2 separate regions of the Homo sapiens genome follow, and region 2 is linked to region 1. The links are contacts of gene promoters, found by promoter capture Hi-C in blood cells and fetal thymus (Javierre and others, 2016). All regions are on one chromosome and are shown on one strand. The core of a region is centred on a gene start or on the middle of the fragment in contact, and the rest is flanking DNA. Distances in the headings are between cores, read along the strand shown. Region 1 holds the start of AKAP12 (A-kinase anchoring protein 12). Region 2 overlaps MTHFD1L (methylenetetrahydrofolate dehydrogenase (NADP+ dependent) 1 like).

What was found. Contacts are between HindIII fragments. The CHiCAGO score rates a contact against its expected background, and 5 or more counts as called.
Region 2: a contact is called between a fragment that was not itself captured here and the fragment with the promoter of AKAP12 in region 1, in 1 of 17 cell types (endothelial precursors). The highest score is 5.4, in endothelial precursors.

What each region holds. Positions count from the first base shown.
Region 1 is chr6:151,236,489-151,242,957 of GRCh38, forward strand. AKAP12 (A-kinase anchoring protein 12) reads left to right here and starts at 3,479. Exons shown (of 5, transcript NM_005100.4): 1 at 3,479-3,571; 2 at 3,896-4,236. The coding sequence starts at 4,075. RefSeq lists enhancers at 3,282-3,791, 3,869-4,446. The HindIII fragment of the contact is 4,204 bases long and covers 1,346-5,549 here.
Region 2 is chr6:150,967,217-150,973,685 of GRCh38, forward strand. MTHFD1L (methylenetetrahydrofolate dehydrogenase (NADP+ dependent) 1 like) reads left to right here. Exons shown (of 28, transcript NM_015440.5): 20 at 4,731-4,842. Among named protein-coding and RNA genes, the nearest start is that of MTHFD1L, 100 kb to the left of the region's middle. The HindIII fragment of the contact is 2,116 bases long and covers 2,524-4,639 here.

The DNA of each region.
Region 1 (6,469 bases), core at 2,229-4,728:
AGAAGTTATAATCAAGAGAGAAGCAGTTTCAAAGGTGAAGGTGAAGAGTTGCCAGTCTCAGCGAAGGCTTTGTAACTAGAGAATGAATCTTTAGGGTAGAGTTAACGGTAGATTTTAAACTGTTTTAATAATTAAAATTATTATTGCACTTTGAAGGGGGTGTCTGAACTCAGTTGTAAAATGTTTGACATTTGTGAATTCCTTTAATGTTATATTTGAAACTGTTTTGGTGCATGCACAAGGTGCCCAACTATGACTCTACATTTTATTGTTAAACCTCATGTGACCCGTCTTTCTGGAGAAGTATGTGTGCGAAGTACAGGTTCAGCCTGCTACACAGGCAACATGTATTTGTTTTTGAGAAATCTCAAACTGTGTTTATGAGAGAATTAACCCTCTCAGGGAAACAGCTCTACCAACGACTGCCCCATGGGAGAGGATGTGTGGGGACACCTGCATCCTGCTATTTGGAGAAAAATTGAGCTGCTGGTGAGACATTGAACCAACAGCCTTGGACTGAGAAGTGAAAAATAGAGAACACCTGCCTCCCCTCTACTCTGATGCCAATCCAAGCAATTCCGAAGGCATCTTGGAAGCCCTAGAAAAGAAAACCTCAGTGACTCGATTTAGAACCTTGGAAACTAGAGTGGTAACTTTGTGCTTGGCACATAATAGGTACTTGATAGAAATTTATTGAAAGAAAGAAAGAGAAGAAGGAAAGAAAGAAAAAGAAAGAAAGAACAGAGAAGAAGGAAAGAAAGAAAAAGAAAGAAAGAAAGAAAAGTAAAAAAAGTAACAAACTTTGTAGCATTCTGAAGCACTAAGTGGCATACCCAAAAGGTTGGGCTATTTCATCGCTAGAGGTCATTAATAACACAACCACTTTTCTTTTCTTCTCTTTTTTTTTTTTGAGACAGGGTCTCACTATGTCATCCAGGCTGCAGTCTGGAACTCCTGGGCTCAAGTGATCCTCCCGCCTCAGCCTCCCAAGTAGCTAGGACTACAGGCATGCACCACCACTCCTGGCTAAATTTTTTTTTATTTTTTGTAGAGATGGGAGTTTCACTGTGTTGCCCAGGCTGGTCTTGAACCCCTGGTGTCAAGCAATCCTTCCACTTCAACCTCCCAAAGTGCTGGGATTACAGGCGTGAGCCACCGCGCCCAGCGCAATGATTTTACTTTTTACAAATAAGAGTATGAACATTTACATGGCCTGGAAAATAAACAAAAAGCAAGTAACTGCTAATCTAAGCAGATGCTGATATCTTCCTCAGCACGTAGGTTGTACACTGTTGGCTTGACCCTGCAATCCTTTCTGAAAATTTAAAGGGTAGTAGATGTGAAAAGCTTTGCTAAGAATTTCCCAGGAACAAAGTAAATATAATCTCACAGAATGTGAAAATGTTGATAGTATTTGTGCTACTTACTGATACATTTTCAAATGTGCTGACGTTAATCATTCTCAAATAGTTTTTTTTTTCTTCTTCTTTTTTTTTTTTTGGGACGGAGTCTTAATCTGTCATCCAGGCTGGCGTGCAATGGCATGATCTCAGCTCACTGCAACCTCCACCTCCCAGGTTCAAGCAGTTCTCGTGTCTTGGCCTCCTGAGTAGCTGGGATTACAGACACGCGCCACCATGCCTGGCTAATTTTTGTACTTTTAGTAGAGACGGGGTTTCACCATGTTGCCCAGGCTGGTCTTGAACTACTGTCCTCAGGTGATCCACCCACCTCGGCCTCCCAAAGTGCTGGGATTACAGGTGTAAGCCACCACACCTGGCCTCAAGTAGGTTTTAACAGTGCTTTTTGCTCTTAAAATCCTAAGTGAGGTCCAAATGCCACGTTTCAGTAACACCTCTGAGAGGAGAGAACACAGTTGATTGAAAGGGAAGGGGAGTGCCATGCGGTGGTGAAGCGTGGACCCTGAAAGCAGATGCCAGTTGGACTTCCTGCTCTTCCAACTCCTGGCTGTGAAACCTGAAGCACACAATTTAATTTCTCCGGGCCTACTCCTCCCCCTCCTGCCAATGGTAAAATGAGAATAATACTATCTATCCCATGGGGTTATTGTAAAGATTATTATGTAAAGTGCATTGAACAGTGCCTGGTACAGAGTAAGAATTCTAATGTTTCCTAAATAGTCAAAATTTAAGTCAAAATGGGGGAAATGTGTATAAATTCCTAAAACTAAGCATTTTGCAAATATACTGTTTCTTAAGAGATAAACTCCAGAGAAATTGGCCTTCGTGTAGTCCTTTAAATAAAAATAATTAATTCAGAAAACAGGCCCAGTGTGGTGGTTCACACCTATAATCCCAGCACTTTGAGAGGCCAAGGCAGGAGGATCGCTTGAGCTCAGGAGTTCAACACTAGCCTGGGCAACACAGCGAGACCTTGTCTCAAAAAAAGAAAAAGAAAAAAAATTAATTCAGAAAACAAATTTGATGGTGAGTAACTAACCTATGGTTCCCAGGGTACCATTCGATTCATGCAATTCATTAGGCATGAAACATCCTAGTGCTGAACTACTGCTTACACCCTTTCTACAAAATTGTACTAAATCTGAGTATGAGATATTTATCTGGAATTTGGTGTGAATATTCCGAAAGTTTCTTCCTTCTTTCTTTCTTTTTTTTTTTTGACAGAATCTTGCTCTGTCGACTAGGATGGAGTGCAGAGGCACAGTCATAGCTCACTGCAGCCTCGAATTCCTGGGCTGAAGTCATCCTTCTACCCCAGCGTCCCCAGCCTCCTGAGTAGCTAGGACTACAGGTGCACCACTGCGCCTGGCTAATTTTTTTATTTTTTGTAGAGACAAGGTCTCGCTATGTTAACCAGGCTGGTTTCTTCATTCTTAATGGAGATTCAAAGTATTTGTGAAAACTGGGGCACTCGGTTGCTAGTTACAACTGGAATAAATTTTGTCTTTCAGCCCCAAAGCCTTAATGCTTTGCGCCAAGCAATCCAGCTACAAATTTAATTTAGTTCAAATACTTATTGATTGGCTGCCATGCTCATGTAATACATATTATATTCAAGGGTCGGAAATGAAAGGATGCAAGCCACTTGTGCTGGTATTATTTAAAGTCTTCATCTTTTGAGAAAGGCTGACGGCAAAGGAACAGATCTATGCTGTCATGTGTCGGCATCGCGCGGAGCAGAGGTGGCCTGGATGGGTAACTTCCAGCACAGGCCCTCAAAGAAGGACGGGCACATTTCCGGTAACAGCCTCATTTCCCCCCGTTCCCCGGGGGAAGGGGGGCGGCTAGCACTGCTGATGGCATCGCCTGACATCACTTGTTCCGGAGGATAGGAGAGCGTGGGCCTGCGTGGCCCACCTCATCCGTGGCCTGACTGCGTTAACCTCTCGGTTCCCTGCTCTTGCCACGTGAGGTGCCCAAATATGGTCGGACTCAGGAGGAGCCAGGGAGCGCTTGCCTTTCTCCTGCTAATGGGGAGGAGGCTGGAACAAATGTTTGGAGTTAAACACAATCTGCAGGAAAGCAAATGGGGACTCGGACTCGCTCCTGGGCGAGCTGAAAGTCGGCTGCAGCAGAAGCTCCTGCCTTGGGTGATCCATCATTTAATAAACCCCAGAGAATCCAGTGTCCCCGGCAGGCTTTTTGCTCCCCTGCTCTCTTGCCTTCTGAGGCCCTGGGTCGTCCCCGCAGCTCTAGTCGCCCTGTTAGAAACGGGAGGCGCCCGAGGGCCGGGTGGGCGGCTGCCTGGACCTGGGCTGGCGCGTCGCAGCGCCTCTGGTCCCGGCAGCCTGGGGGCAGATGCTGCTGCAGGGCGTGTCTGGGGCTGTGCTCATGTGATGAAGCGAGGGAAAAACCGGGGGGAGGGGGGCGGAGGCTAAGAGGTGGCCTTTTTTTTTTTTTCCTTTTCTTTTAAGGAGTTTGCCGCGAGCGCGTCTCCTTCATTCGCAGGCTGGGCGCGTTCGCAGTCGGCTGGCGGCGAAGGAAGGCGCTCTCGGGACCTCGCGGGCGCGCGTCTTTTGGCTCTTGCCCCTGTCCCTGCGGCTTGGGGAAGGCGTAACCCGGCGGCTAGGCGCGGGAGAAGTGCGGAGGAGCCATGGGCGCCGGGAGCTCCACCGAGCAGCGCAGCCCGGAGCAGCCGCCCGAGGGGAGCTCCACGCCGGCTGAGCCCGAGCCCAGCGGCGGCGGCCCCTCGGCCGAGGCGGCGCCAGACACCACCGCGGACCCCGCCATCGCTGCCTCGGACCCCGCCACCAAGGTACGGGCGTGCCGGGCCACCTGCGCCGGGAGGCGCGGGTCTTTGGGGGTGGGGGTGGGGGTGGGGGGGTCCCTCCGATTTCCGCCGAGAGAACTTCCCAGCCCATCCAGCCGCATCTGCAAACTCAGGAGTGCGAACCCCTCTTTGGAGGCTTTTCAGGGTCTTTCGCGCCGGGGCGGGGCCAGAGCAGCGGCGAGCGCGGCGGGGGGCTTGCATCTTTGTCGCGGGTCTCCAGGGGAGGCGACTGCGCCATGCGCAATAATAAAACCCGCGCCCTGCCCACGGCGGCTGAGCCTTTCTGCGCACTCTTCCGGTGGGAGCCATGCAGCCCGAGGCGGAGGAGCTGCGCGGAGGGGGATCCGTGGAGAATGGACCCCGGGCCGGGCCTCCGGAGCTCCGAGATGCGGAAAGTCAGCTGTGAGGCCAGGACTCGTGGTGGAGCCCGCCGGGGAGCCCAGCCACCCTCGGGTTCCCCGTCGCGTACCGCCCTGGATGCCAGCGGTGCCTGGAGCGAGCGGGTTTGGTACCCAGTCCTCCTGCGGCAGCGGCCCGAGCAGGCACCGCCTTCCCGAGGCAGAGAAAGCCTGGGGTGTAGCTCGCTCAGAGCCAGGAAAAACCTGGGCAGGCGCTGCGTTTCCAGAAGGAATGACAGGTTTCGCAAACCAGCCAGCGCCCTCGCGTTCGCTCAGCGCTTTGCCTGCAGACTCAGTTGGCCAAACACACGCTAGAGTGGCTAGAAGTTCTCAAAGGATGGGGTCAGTGTAACGAGCATTCCGGGTACTCTTCCCTGGACGCAGTGCTGAAACGACTGCATTTTATCGGCTTCAGTCTTCAAGGCTGGAATATTTCTTGTGGGCCAGGACAGCCGCCAAGACTGTGGCTTGTTCTGGTCGTGGTATTTTAGATCTATTTTCCAGCGCATGTGTTCATTAGCAAGGCTTCACTCTACTGATTTTGTGATACCCTTGTATCACAAAGGTACCCTTGTGATACCTTGTAGAAAGATGTGGATAACCATGTTTAATAGTTAAATTTGCGGTATGTCAAATTTGAGGATAGAGTACGTGAGTTATCGCAGGAGGTGTAGATGTTTACAATATGCAAAAAAAAAAAAAAAAAGGAACCTACAACCATGACCTAATTGCCTTGACCTCCTTAGCTGCCCTAGTCTCTTTTGGGCTGAGAGACTGCTGTTAATAATATAGTTTTTACCGCCAGTCTTTGATTCATAACTACTTGTAAAATCCATGGTCCCTAGATATTAAGTACTAACTGTGTCTCTGTGCTATGTAGGTTTTTCTAAGAGATGCTTAAGCTTCTGGCCTGAGGAATGTACTGTCCTTTTGAGATTCAAGTCGCATTTTAATACTTACTGTATGCACATAATGTTTTGATGCCAGCTACTGTCAAAGTGGCTCTGTAACCAGTGGTCAGAGTCTAGCGATGAAAATAATTTTAAGGTATAATTGCTAAAAACTTGCAGTTGGGTGACATTCCCCCCACCGCCCCGGCTTTTATACTCCTTCAGATCTTACTAACTGTTCACCCTGAAATATGGGATTTAATCCCTTCCCAGTAAACTTGAATTTGTTTATTTAAAAATATTCCTTCCATTCTCTTTTTCCGTCTTCCATAACCTTATCCTTTTCCTCTTTCCAAGTTGCCAACCGTCTTGAAGCAACCAAACAACCTCCTTTTAAAAAATCACTTAAATGACATCCAGAATATCATTGAACTTGTTGGCATAATGCCCAGTTATCAATTTGGAGACAAATCAGTGCACTTACATGTATCCTTGGAATGTATTTAGTTTTCATTTGAACTAGCCAAATTTATCACTCAGGCTTTGAACACAAATGTCTTTTCAAAAGGACTCCCCAATTAAGAATGACTCAGCACCATGGCCCTTGCCTCCCCTCTTCTTGTTAAGCTCCAATTCCTGACCTCCAAGTAATCCCATCTCCCACTCTAGGCTCCGTGGCACCATGGACCCGTCCCAGCAGTTTTCACATGTGTGGGTTTAGTGTTCTTGCTGTTGTGAATACTTCGCAGGGGCAGGGAACACGCCTGGTTGTGCCGACCAACGGTGTTCCTTCATGCGTGCCATGTTGCCTGGCACAGAGGCAGCTCTCAGGAATACTTGTGGAAAGAGGAAGGGGTGATATTGGCTCCTTGGTTTTGATTGGAAAATATCAAGTTGGAGAATACCTTGACCTATCTGATTTTACTACAA
Region 2 (6,469 bases), core at 2,332-4,831, 270 kb before region 1:
GGTCACTTTTCCCTTGGAGACACCAAGTCTTTGTTGCTGTGCCCTCCTCAGAGAAGCTCAGCAGAGTTTGACACAGCTGCCCTTGTCTTCCTTCAGGAGCACCTGGTTCCTCTGGCGTCTGGGGTCCCCCCCTCCCCAGGCCTGCTCGCTGCTCCTCCTCCGCTTTGCTGGCTTCTCTGATGACCCCTCACCTTTTTTGCCCCGTTCTCCTCCAGAATTAGCCAGGTGATGACTCCCAAACTCTTGTTTGGAATATCATGCACCTGGAATTTCAGACTTGCAGGTATAGTTACCAGGAGCCACGTGGGTGGGGAAAAGCCATTTCAAACTGATACATAAACCAGGACCCACCTCCTACCTACTTCCTTCCAGCTCGCTGCTTCCCTGAAACCTTCCCAGTCATTCAAGGCAGAAACCCGAGGATGATCCTAGAGGCCTGTTTTCCCTTCCCCTCTTCCTGTGTCCATCCCTGCAGAGTTGTCCTTGGTTACATGACTCTGCCCTGTCCACGATGCTCAATGCCTCCCTCCTTCCTGCTTTAGCTGCCAGCACGCCCCACCTGCACGAGTGCAGCAGCCTCCCAACCAGTCTCTCTGCTGCTACTCTTTTCTTCCAAAATACTCTCTCCTCAGCAGCCATAGAGACTGAAACCTAATGAAGCCCTGTTGCCTTCCTACTTAGAGTTCTTCCATGATTTACCCATGTTTCCACCCCGGTCTGAAAAGCCCTAGGGATCTGGCTCTCACCCCTTCCCGCTCCTTGTCCCTTATCCTCATCTCTCATCCTCTGGGGGACCTTTGCACGGCTAACACCACTACCTGGGCCACTTCCTGATATTCTCATGTCCAGCTCCTTCGCCTCCCTCTGTTCTCATGTCATGTAAGCATCAGCTGCTCAGAGAAGCCACAGGAATGTGCAGCCCCCGTCCCTCTGCTGTCATTGCAGTACATGGCACAGAATGCTGAGAGCTTCCTATTTCCTTATCTGTTTTCTGTATTTCTCCTCCCACCGAGATGACAGCAAGACCTTTTCCATCCTGTTCACCACCGTATCTCCAGCTTCTAGAAAGTGCCCGACACCTATTAGAGGTTCAGTAAAGACTTGTTGAATAATTAAGTGAATGTTTATTATTTTTACTACATTCTCCTAAAAATACACATTTATTAATAAATAACTGAATAAGAGAAAAAATACGAAGTGATGTGATATTCCTTCATAACACTTCTCCCTCAAAGATGAATACTTATTATTAGGGATAATCATTTTCTTTATTGTTGTTGTTTGTTTTGTTTTGTTTTGTTTTGTTTTTTTGAGACGGAGTCTCTCCCTGTCGCCCAGCCTGGAGTGCAATGGTGGGATCTCGGCTCACTGCAACCTCTGCCTCCCAGGTTCAAGCGATTCTCTTGCCTCAGCCTCCCAGGTAGCTGGGATTATAGGCGCCTGCCACCACACCCGGCTAATTTTTGTATTTTTTTTTTAAGTAGAGATGGGGTTTCACCACGTTGGCCAGGCTGGTCTCAAACTCCTGACCTCAGGTGATCTGCCCGCCTGAGCCCCCAAAGTGCTGGAATTACAGGCGTGAGCCACCATGCCCCAGCCAGGATAATCATTTTCTTGTTTTAAATAATTCTTTTTTTTTTTTTTTTTTTGAAACGGAGTTTTGCTCTTGTTGCCCAGGCTGGAGTGCAATGGTGTGATCTTGGCTCACTGCAACCTCTGCCTTCCGGTTTCAAGCGATTCTCCTGCCTCAGCCTCCTGAGCATCTGGGATTACAGGCGCCCGCTACCATGCCTGGCTAATTTTTGTATTTTTAGTAGAGACAGGGTTTTACCATGTTGGCCAGGCTGGTCTCGAACTCCTGACCTCATGATCCACCCACCTCGGCCTCCCAAAGTGCTGGGATTACAGGCGTGGGCCACCACGCCCAGCAAATTTTTGTATTTTTAGTAGAGGCAGGGTTTCACCATGTTGGCCAGGCCAGTCTCAAACTCCTGACCTCAGGTGATCCGTCTGCCTCTGCCTCTCAAAGTACTGGGATTATAGGTGTGAGCCACCGTGCCCGGCCTGAGCACTTTTTAAAACATAATCTAAACCTGTTATTTCTTTGCTGCCTAATAAATCAGAGATTCAGAACCCTTAAAAAGCAAATAAAAGTAAGGGCAATAAGACCTGCTGAGGCTGAGGCAGGAGAATAGCTTGAACCGGGGAGGTGGAGGTTGCAGTGAGCAGAGATCATGCCACTGCACTCCAGCCTGGGCGACAGATTGAGACATAAAATAGACTGAGACCCTGCCTCAAAAAAAAAAAAAAAGAGTCCTCAAACTGTTCATATACAGGACTGGGCTTGCTAGGGAAAGAAGGGGGAATTCTTCAGACTACTTTACAAGGACACAAGAACTCCTCAACCTAAACAAAGTATGAAGGTACATAGACAAGTTTCTTGTAAGTCGGAAAACAGAGAAATCCACAGTAACTATAATACATCCCTTAAAGGATAAGCATGCATTTGTAGGAAGCAAACAAAGCTTTCCATAGAGAAACCACTTCCACCAGATGATTATATGGACTTGGGTTTTGTTTCTGCATCTGTCACTTGGCAAATGAAGATACCATCTTCAGGATGTTCCGTGTCATCGATTTCATTTAAGGCATAGGCTGTTTTAAGATTACTTTAAAAGATATGGACCTTTTTACAAAATAAAACACTGCATTCACTTAAAATATTTGCAGACGTGAACTCTTGTACCCTGATCCTATGTTGTCACTCTGGGTTTTATGTATCTAATCATTGACTAGGAATCTATCTCAGCAGATAATCCAAAAATCTAGTTTGACTAGTTGGTAGATTATGCTTTCCCGCTCACATCTGAACACACCTGGTTGTTAGTCTGGTAGGAGGTCATCAAGGGCCACATCCTTACAGGTTGCCAGGAGACCAGTAGTTCTTAATCCTGACTGCACTTGAGAAGCTCCTGGGAAGGTTTAAGAATATTGATTGATTGATGCCGGGCTCCCCATCAGACCCAGTGAACGTAATGTCTGAGGATAAGGCTTGGGTATCATGTATTGCCAGACTGAGGAAGACTTAAGACAAGAAAACAGTGAGAGCTGTTAACATTTTCCCACAGGTTAGCCGTGTGTGGTGTTGATGGAAACTTCACATGCGAGAGCACACTGTCCAATATGGCGGCCACTGGACATGTGGCCATTTCAATCTAAATTACCTAAACTTCAATAAAATTTGGAATTCAGTTCTTCAGTCATTTTAGCCACATTTCCATTTATGCATTTATTTGTTTATATTTTACTGTTCATATTTAAGTGCTTAGAACTCTGGTAAGCTAACAATTACTTGAAATTACTTGAAATATTAATCTTATGAAATGTTTGAAAGGGCCATTATGGAGAATATTCATAGCAAGATAGTTCCTGCCTTATTTTCCTGAGTGTTCTGCATGTAAAATAAAACCCAGAACTCAAGATAAATGTGTGTATGCCTTTGAGTTAGTCATAGAATTTTTTAAGCAACATGTTTAATTTGATGTACTGTATCTTATAGCTATATCCATGTTTGAGTGTGCAAGTGTGTGTGTACCTGTGTTTGGAAGTCTAACAATGACATTCCAATATTTTTTTCTCACCAACTCCATACTGGGAGTTTTAAAACCAGAGCCCTAATCTTGACTTAATTATTAATTTCCTCCGTGGCCCTGAAGAATTCCCTTAGCCTCTCTGGGCCTTAAATTTCTGGATAAAGAAGTTGGCTGCTTCGTGCTCTCAACATTATCTGATTCTGTGATTTCTAGCTAAAGCTACATTTATACAAAAATATAAAGTGCTTTTGCAAAGTAAAGAGTAGAATAGTGGTTATCAGAGGCAGTGGGGGATGGAGAAGTTGACCAAATAATACAAAATTCCAGTTAGACACCACCTGTGTATTCATAAACATGTGTCCCTAGGTTTTATTTATTTATTTTTATTTATTATTTTTTTCATTTTTGAGTCAGAGTCGGTCTGTCACCCACACTGGAGTGCAGTGGTGCGATCTCAGCTCACTGCAACCTCCACCTCCCAGGTTCAAGCTGTTCTTGTGCTTCAGCCTCCCGAGTAGCTGAGCTGGGTTTACAGGAGCACACCACCACACCCTGCTAAATTTTGTATTTTTAGTAGAGACGGGTTTCACTGTTGGCCAGGCCAGTCTTGAACTCCTGACCTCAGGCGATCCGCCCATCTTGGCCTCCCAAAGTACGGGGATTACAGGCGTGAGTCACTGTGCCCAGCCAATTGTAATGATTTTTATGGTTACCTTTTCTTGAATGGAATCATTTCTTAATTAAAAAAATAAATATACCTTTTATACCATCAGGGTTTAATTTCATTCTTTTAAAAAAATATAGTGCATGGCAACATAAAATAAGGTAAATAATTTATTTCATGGTCATTGAGGCAACTAACAAAATGGTTTAACAATATTTTGGAAGGAAGTGACTGTATTCTCACAGTTTTGTCTCTCAGGTTCAGCATTAAATGTAGAATAACATTTTTCTAGAATCCGGAGGGAATTTGGTCCTTTGATTGAGTCAGGGTGTTTTGACTGTCTTTGAAATATTTTATGCATTAAATATGCAGTATTCATAAAAGCTTTCCTACCCCATTTGCCCCAAATTGATCTTGGTTTCCATGCTTCTGTTTGTCTTTTGGGATTTTGATTTGCTTTTTCACTTCTCTAGGGGACACCTGTGTTCGTGCATGCGGGCCCTTTTGCTAACATTGCTCACGGCAACTCTTCAGTGTTGGCTGATAAAATTGCCCTGAAACTGGTTGGTGAAGAAGGATTTGTAGGTAAGTTATTTCTTTTAAATTTAGTTGTTGTAGAATATTGAAGAAATCTAAAAGCTGATGACTGGAATGGAGTGATATCCATCCTGACATGAAACATATTCTTTCAGGCACCCTCTTTCATAGAGGGTCTCAATAATGGAAAAGCCCTAAGGTCTGGTCTATACTCGTGAAATTATGCTTGTGCTTGAATCATAGAGTCTGGTATCAAGTACATATGGGTTTGAGTATAAACTCTGACTCTTGCAAACTGAGTGACATTGGACACATTTTAATTACTACTGAGCTTCGGTTTTCTTGTGTGTAAAATAGTGATAACAATACTGTATCAAACCTTTTAGGGTTGTTATGAAAACTGAATGAGATATTTTAGTCATTCAGCAAATGTTTTTTGAGAACCTACCACTTAGAAGGCATGTTAGCTAGGGATCCAGTGGTAAGCAAAACAGATAGGCGCAGTGGCACATGCCTCGCTACTCAGGAAGCCGAGGCAGGAGGATTGCTCGAGCCCAGGAGTTTGTGTCCAGCCTGGGCAGCATAGAAGACCCTGCCTCTGTGAAAAAATTAAAATTAAAACAACCAGCCTTAGCCCCTGCTCCTGTGGAGCGTACTGTCTAATGGTAATTGAATAAGAGAAAGTGCTCATTGACTGTCAGCCATTACTACCCTTACTATGTAGTACTGATAACTTGAAGTCGTGGGTTTATTTCCATGTACAGTTTCTCCTTGTTTTTTGTGAGCTAATATAGGAGAGATTCCCAACCAGTAGACTTAGAAATGTTAATTGGTAGTACTGCACACCTTTTGCTGCTGTCAAGTTCTTTGCAGAACCTGTTCCTCTTTGGCTTTTCTTGCATATTCCAGCTAGAAAGAAGGGGCAACTCTCATAGAGTTTACTAAGTCAGTGCCAGCCCCAGTCTCACCCACAATACTAAGGCAGCAAGGAAACAAAAGACAAAACCAAAACACAGGCATTCATGGAGGAGTCCCTTAATCTGACATATGAGGGACTGCATTGGCAGATTTCCCATGCTAACAGGTAATTCCCATTAACCACACGTATACCTATAATCGGAGACAGCAATCTCTTCTTTCACTCTTATCATCAGCTTTGGATCAAACTCAAAAGAGTTATTTTATTAGAAGAGAGTGTGCTGGACAAAAGAACTTGGCACTGCATTTTATGCTCAGACATCACAAAGTTCATTCAGTGTTATTGAGACTCTTTTAAGAATTCCTTGTGGACTGGCAGTCAGGATCAGATGAGGCTTGGTGGAGCTCCACTCCTCCATGATCTGTTTTCTGCAGCTCTCATGTACTTTGCTCCTTCGGTAGCAAATCCACTGCAAGAGTGGCTAGACATACTGTCTAAGTGGATTTGCTCAATTGATCGCTGCCTAATTGTAGAGCTAATGGACGAGGAGGCTGGGTCAGGGCGGGCACTGGAAAGTTGGGTGCTTAAGTGAAGTGGTGGTTCTGATGCATCAGCTCTGCAAATAAAGTAGCTTCTAGAAGGAAGCACTCTATTTTATGCTGACAGAGATCTCTGCCCATACCAGTTCTTACTTTGTCAAACACATATTTATAAAATACATGTTATCATGGCAGAATACTTTCAAAGATATAAACT